Linked DNA regions of Homo sapiens: region 2 is linked to region 1. Evidence: promoter capture Hi-C in human tissues and cell types (Jung and others, 2019). All regions are on one chromosome and are shown on one strand. Each heading gives the region's core, a stretch centred on a gene start or on the middle of the fragment in contact. The rest is flanking DNA. Distances are from core to core; before and after follow the strand shown.

Region 1 (3,724 bases), core at 489-2,988:
GGCATTTTCCCTCTGCACCTGCTTCCTCATGTGTCAGTTACTGGTAGAGATTCTGTTCTTTGAAAGGGATGTGTTGAGGGTTCTGTGATAACTTTATAGTCTCAGACCTTATGGACTTGGTAATATCAGGTGTGTGGTAAGTACTTGGTAAACACCAACTGATTTATATCACTTCCTGCTGGACTCGGCCCAGAAGGTAAAAGCCAGAACCGGAAGGATCTGTGGGTCTGCGGTGAGGTCCTGCCCTCAGCTTGCCTTGGCGCGTTGGCAGAACCGCTGAGTACCTCCCAGCGTAGGATTCCGCAGCAGCTGCACTTACGGTCTGTGAGGCCTGCCTGACAGCTTCCCCGCTGACCTTGGCAGTGTCCCTGCTGACGCCCATTGGGATATGCCTTTGCCTGGAACCGCCAGTGCATCATGATGGAGCCAGGACCACAACCTGGGTCTCCCAGTGCTCACTCAGCCCCTCCCAGGACTCACTTCCCGGGGTGAGTGCTGTCGAGGGTTGGGGCCACGCTGAGGAAGTGTGGGTTTGGAATGGCTCTACTTTCCCTGAATCTAGGCACCTGAGGGCCTTGCCCTCTGCCTCTCACTGTTTGCTGGCTGTGTGGGCAGAGAATGTTTTTGTGGCAGTGGATGTAGGTCCAACCTGTGCAGGGGGAAGGCAAGAGCTTGGGCAGGCTCTGGCCTGGGGAGCAGAAAACCTAGGGCTCCCCCTCTCAGCTGGGACTGGCTGTGGGTGGAAGGAGAGGGCTGTGTGCCATTCCCACTCTGTCATGCACACGGCGATGGGAGGGAGTGAGGTTGCCTCCAGAGGCTGGGACAGAGGGTCAGGACCTCTGGAGCCAGAGCCTGCAGCCCCGGGAGACAACTCAGGCCTGTCTGGGGAACTGTGCATCCAGGGCCACACGGCTAGAGCGCAGGCCCATCAGATACGGAAAAATTCCTGGCAGCCATGCTGATGTGGAATTTTCCCCATTCCAGAATCGCCCAGTAATGGCGGGGGCAGTGGGGCTCTGACGCATCCCAGGCCCCACTGGGTGGCCAGCTGGTTCCTTACTGCCCACAGCTGGCGCTGAGGATTCCTGGCCCCTGGCAGGCATTGGTCCTCATCCATGGTCTTGCTCCTCTGGGGTGAAGAAGGAAAGGCCAGGCCTGGAAAATGAGACAGGGCCTGGATGGGACACCTGCCTCCTGGTGGCCTTGCTCAGCCCTCATTGGCACCCTAGAGAGTGACAGCTGAGACCTCCAGGTGACAGGACCAGTTGGAGCTCAGTCTCTTGCTTGAGCTCCCTCCACTCCCATGAGTGCCAAAAATGTGTCGTCCCCAGTTGGCACTGACTAGAGCAAGAAGCCGTATGATCCATTGGATCCTAAGGGCCCCAGGACCCCCCAACCAAAGTTAAGCAATAGTCCGTCCGCCGCCTTTTTCCCAGAGCCCTGGCTCCCCTCCCCACCACCACCAAGCCTGGGCATCCTCAAGTCTTCTGGGCTGGGGGCTCCGTTGAGCCAGAGGACCGGGGCGGGACAATGGCCCCGTTGGCGCGTCCGAGACAAACGGGCCTTGTTGGGCCGGCGGCGGGGGCGCAGCGTTGCGCCCCAGCGCGCTGAATGCGGCTTCTGTGCGTCTCGGGCGGGCGCAGAGGGGCCGGGATGGGGCGGGGAGGGGGCCGGCCCGGGGCGGGGAGGGGTCTGGGGTCCGGGGCGTCCATTGGCCCCGGCGCCGGAGGCTGGGCCAGGCTGGCGGCGGCACCTGGCCGGGAGCGGGCGCGGCGCGGGAGCGGGCGCGGCGCGGCAGCGGCGGCGGGGGCGGGGGCATGGACCAGGCCTGGTGGAGCGGGGGGCCCGGCCGGGTGCGCCCCGCCGCCCAGTGAGCGCCCGGGCGGCGCGGCCCGGGCCGAGCCAGCCACGCTGAGGCGGAGGAGGACGGGGACAAGGTACGTCCCGGGCTCCAGCACCCACTGCCAGCTTGAGCCCTGCCTCAGTCTACTCCCTGGGGATACCGCCCACATTACGCTAACCCCCAAACTGGGACCACGCGCCGGAGGAGGGGAGTAGGAGTGCAGTACCGCTGTTCTAAGCGCTGGGTACCCCTGCCCACTGCCAGAGGGTGGCCTGGTAGGGGCCAGGGAGGGCACAGGTTGGTGCCCCCCATGCCCTTGGTTTTTTCCCCTGTCCCCCAACCCCCCTTCCAGGGCTTCCCAGTCCCTGAAGGTGGGATGGGTGGGGCAGAAGGCAGGCTGCTGGGGCTGAGCTGGAGCTGGGAGTGCGTTAATGATTAATCTTGGACACAGTGGCCAGAGCCCTAGGGGAGGAGGGGCAGAGATCTCCCCTGTCTCCATCAGCCCTTCCTAGAAAGGGGATCAGAGCAGGAACCGGAGACCATAGTAAGGGATGGATCCCCTCTGCTGGGGGAAGGCCCTGGCCTGTACCCCAGAGGAAGCAAAGCCACCAAGGAGAGGTTTGGGAGAGTGGGACAAACCCTGGCATCCAGGAGGGGTCCTATAGGAAATCCTACAGTTCCTGTTTCCTAGCCCAGTGCCCAGGAAGGGGGTCCAGCTTGATCTGCCCCTTCGGTGCCAGGCCAGCATTTTGGTACCAGCACAGAGCACACTACAGACCGAGCCCTGCCCAGTGGGAACTGCCCCGCCCAGCTGCCCAGAGCCAGAGAGGTGATGGGCATGTCTGGCTGCTGTAACCCACACCAGGGGGAAGGAAAGGGAGAGAAGGCAGCATGCCTGACACCTGATCCCCGGGCTGCCGCGGTGACAGGTGCATGAGAATCCTCCAGAGGGGAGAGAGGTGTAGAGGACTGTCCATTCCAGTTGGGAAAACCCAATCTCTTCCTTTACTGACGGGGTGACCTGAGGCCCAGAGAGGGTGAGGCTCATCCAGGCCCACACAGGGGGCACAGGAGGGCAGTCCTGGACCAGAGCAGTCACTGTGTACGCACTGTTCCTTGTCCTGTGAAGGAGGCATTGCTACCTATCCCCATTATCCAGAGGGGGATACTGAGGCTCAGGGAAATTCAATGACTTGTCCAAGGTCACATGGCTCAGAGGTAGCTGAGCTGACTCCAAATCATAGGAGTCTTGCCCTGGCCCCCATTTCAGGACCCCAGCCCAACCCATGACCTCTCTCTGCTCCTTTGGGGTCCTGCCTTCTTGGATCTGCCTGGGCTGCCCCAAACCCTCAGCTCTGGACACCCCCCCTCGCCTCCCTGGCTCCCAGCTCCGCCTGACACTTCAGCGGGTGAGCAGGCTGCTACCCCGGGAGCCGAGACAACGAAGCCCTGTTCCCAGCTGCCACCTCAGCCTGCTTTATTCCCTGCTTGCTCAGGCAGAGCCCTTCCTGGAGGAAGCTCCTTGCGGACAGAGAATGCCTGGTCCCCATGCATCCCCTTCCCTTAATGGGTCCGATGCCCTCTTGTCGCCCAGCAAGGGAGGAGTGTGTCCCCCACAGCCCCTCCCACTGTGTTCTGAGGGACTGGGTGTGCCATCCAGTGAAAGAGGCAATGATTAACCTGAGAGAATGATGCACAAATGGAATTCTGGGCCCGGCTGCAGGCTCCTGAAGGGCTCCTTGCTTCACTTTGACTGGGTGAGGAATATGGATGAGCCCTTTTAGGGGCTCCACACGACTCCAAACAGGGCAGAGCAGGATGGAACACAGGTGCCCATGGGGGTCATCAGGCTGGGGACTGCTGGAATCTCCAGGTGAGGGG
Region 2 (3,724 bases), core at 1,046-3,545, 540 kb before region 1:
TAGTCACATACTGATCTAAGCCTGAATTAGGCTGATCCCAACTTGAGACCTTAGTTCTGGGCCCAGATCAAGCCCTTATCCTTCTCTAAGACTGAGCCTTAGTCACAGACTGAATTCTAGCCCCAGCCCAGACTAACCTTTTAGACTGACTCTGGCAGAAGAGTCAGACTAACCTTTTAACCCTGACTCTGGCAGAAGACTGAGCCCTAATCTTGGTCAAAGACTGAGTCCTGAGCCTAATCATTGACTGAACTCTGACCACAGACTGAATTCTGACCCTGGATCATGCAATTCTGGTCACACACTGAGCCCTAAACGGAAGACTGTGCCCTGAATCTGGTCACAGACTGAGCCCTGAACTTAGTCATTGACAGAGACATGACCCTGGTCACAGACTGAGCCTGGCTCCTGGTCACAGACTAAAGACTAAGCCCAATCATGGACTGAGCCCTGTATCTAGCCCTAGGCTACAGACTACTCAACTAAGGGCTGACCTAGACCCTGTCTGAGCCTGACCCCATCACAGACTAATCCCCAACCTTGGCCCCACTTGAGGAAGACTGCTGGCCTAAATTACATGCTGCCACATAAGAGGCATGGATTATGGGCAGAGATCTGTCTTGGGAGATCTTGGGCTTCTCATGCTGCTGATGCCACAGTGTTCCTTCCTGGTACTGTTATGGTCACAGTCTCCACCACTGGTTCCACTGGCTGGTTGGTCAACCCTCAGCAGCCCAAGCTGTGGCCTTTAGGGGCCACAGCATCCAGGCTAATGCAATGAGAGTGGTTTGGTGGCATCTGTCCAGCAAACAACCAGGGCCCATGGGGTACTGGGGTTTGGCTCTGTCAGCAGCAAGAACGACTCCGTGGGGCCTCTGGCTTCAGTTACTCTGAGGCCCTTGCTGGGGTAGGGGTTGGAGTAGAAGGAAATAGTGGGGTATGTCCCATTATTTTCGTAAATAAAGTTTACTGTTTGTGTTTAGGTAATCCATGCCCATTACACAAAACACAGAAGGAAAACATTTACCTATAATTTCATCCACCAAGAAATAATCGTTCTGACTTATTGGTTTGTTTCCTTATAGATATTTTTTGGTGGGGGCGGGGGTCTAGGCATATATATTTATATATACATGTTGTATATAATATGCATATATATTTATATACATGTTGTATATAATATGCATATATATTTATATACATGTATATTTACATATACGTGTTATATATTTTATATAGCTATATCTATTTTTTGAGATGGAGTCTCACTCTGTCGTCCAGGCTGGAGTGCAGTGGCATGATCTCAGCTCACTGAAACCTCCACCTCTGGTCCAAGCAATTCTCCTGCCTCAGCCTCCCGAGTAGCTGGGATTACAGACATGCACCACCATGCCCAGCTAATTTTGTATTTTTAGTAGAGACAGGGTTTTGCCTTGTTGACCAGGCTGGTCTTGAACTCCTGGACTCAAGTGATCCACATGCCTTGGCCTCCCAAGTGCTGGGATTACAGGCGTGAGCCACCAAGACTGGGCCTATACATGTTTTATAGAATTGGTTGGTTACTGTGTTGCTGCCACAATGTCCAGCAACACAGTAGGGTTAGGGTTAGGGTTAGGATCCTGTTAAGGTTGCAGCCCATCTCCTTCTTAACAGGAACTGGAATATGGTGGACCCCACCCTCAGCTTCAGGAATGGGTCCCAGTTGGTTAAGCCAGTAAGCAATTCCCATTTCCCCAGGCACATGATTAGATCACGAATGAACTAGCAAGATACAAGGAAATTTTTGCTCAGGGCTTTTGGGAAAGGAAGCTTATTTTCTCTCCTGAGGAGGCTGCCAAAAAAGATGATCTTCCTTCCATTAGATGTAAATGAAGAGGCCAATGGCTCTAGTTACTGCTGGCAGCCATCTTTACACCATGTAGAAAATTGGCCTACTGATAAACTGACATTATGGAAAGCAGAATGGAGAGACACCAGGCTTTGGTGACTTCATTAACTGGATCAAACTTCACCTGAAGCCCCACCTGCCATTGGACTTTTTTTTTCTTCTTTTTGAAATGGAGTCTCAATCTGTCGCCCAGGCTGGAGTACAGTGGCACGATCTTGGCTCACTGCAACCTCCGCCACCCAGGTTCAAGCGATTCTCCTGCCTCAGCCTCCCGAGTAGCTGGAGTTACAGGTGCCCACCGCTGCGTTTGGCTAATTTTTGTATTTTTAGTAGAGACGGGGTTTCGCCATGTTGGCCAGGCTGGTTTCAAACTCCTGACCTTAGGTGATCTGCCCGCCTCAGCCTCCCAAATTGCTGGGATTACAGGCGTCAGCCACTGTGCCTGTCCTGGACTTTTAAAATTATTTGAGCCAACAGAGTCCCTTTATTTATTTATTTATTTAGAGACTGAGTGTCGCTCTGGCACCCAGGCTGGAGTGCAGTGGCGCAATCTTGGCTCACTGAAACTTCCACCTCCCGGGCTCAAGCAATTCTCTTCCTCAGCCTCCTAAGTAGTTGGGATTACAGGTGTGCACCATCATGCCCAGCTAGTTTTTGTGTTTTTAGTAGAGAGGGGGTTTCACCATGATGGCCAGGCTGGTCTCCATCTCCTGACCTCAAGTGATCTGCCTATCTCGGCCTCCCAAAGTGCTGGGATTACAGGCATGAGCCACTGGGCCCAGCCCCTTTATTTTTATTATTTTTTGACACAGGGTCTTACTCACATTGCCCAGGCTAGAGTGCAGTGGTACGATCTTGGCTCACTGTATTATTTTTTATTTTTTATAGGAGATGGGGTCTCACTCTGTCTCCCAGGTTAGAGTGCAGTGGCATGATCATAGCTCACTGTAGTCTTGAACTCCTGGGCTCAAGCAGTCCTCCCACCTCAGCCTCTGGGGTAGCTGGGACTACAGGCACTGCCATGCCTGGCTAGATTTTAAATATCTTTTTTTAGAGATGGGTTCTCACTATGTTGTCCAGGATAGTTTGGAACTCTTGGCCTCAAGTTATCCTCCTGCCTCAGCCTCCTGAGTAGCTGGGTTTATAGACACAAGCCACCACAACCAGCTCCCTTTATTGTTTAAGCCAGTTTAAATTGGGGTTTCTATGACTTGCAGCCCACAGCATCACAACTCCCAATTGATATTACCAGATTACTGTTTTTGTTGCTTTTTTCTTGCTATTTAATACCATAACCACGAACATTCTCCATGTCATTCCATCTATGCTGCATCTTTTTTTTTTTTTTTGAGATAGAGTCTCACTCGCCCAGGCTGGAGTGCAGTGGTGCGATCTCAGCTCACTGCAACCTCTGCCTCCTGGGTTCAGGCAATTCTCTTGCCTTAGCCTCCCAAGTAGCTGAGATTACAGGCAGCCATCACCATGCCCAGCTAATTTTTATATTTTTAGTAGAGATGGGGCTTCACCATATTGGCCAGGCTGCTCTCAAACTCCTGACCTCAGGTGATCCGCCCACCTCGGCCTCCCAAAGTGCCGGGATTACAGGCGTGAGCCACCCACGCCCAGCCTGCTGCATCATTTTTAACAATTGCATGGTTTTCCATCCTATGGAGGTACACTCATTAATTTAACTCATCCCCTGCTGTGACATGCTTAGGTTATATCCCCAGTTCTTCACCACGATAAATGGTATTCTAATAAACAAGCTTGACCTAACAATCCTCTCTCTGATGATTACTTTGGGGCTAATTCTGAAAAATGGAATTACTGGGTCAA

Evidence for each region. The method cuts DNA at HindIII sites, captures the fragments that hold promoters and counts their contacts. A contact is called where the count stands out against the background at its distance.
Region 2: a contact is called between a fragment that was not itself captured here and the fragment with the promoter of GAL3ST1 in region 1, in 2 of the 25 tissues and cell types used here (dorsolateral prefrontal cortex and spleen).

The regions. Positions count from the first base shown.
Region 1 is chr22:30,572,679-30,576,402 of GRCh38, reverse strand. GAL3ST1 (galactose-3-O-sulfotransferase 1) reads left to right here and starts at 1,738. Exons shown (of 4, transcript NM_001318104.2): 1 at 1,738-1,937. RefSeq lists enhancers at 1,818-2,498, 2,499-3,180. The HindIII fragment of the contact is 15,540 bases long and covers 1-3,724 here.
Region 2 is chr22:31,115,189-31,118,912 of GRCh38, reverse strand. All of the region lies in intron 1 of LOC105372995 (a long non-coding RNA gene), which reads left to right. Among named protein-coding and RNA genes, the nearest start is that of INPP5J, 5.9 kb to the left of the region's middle. The HindIII fragment of the contact is 5,360 bases long and covers 1-3,724 here.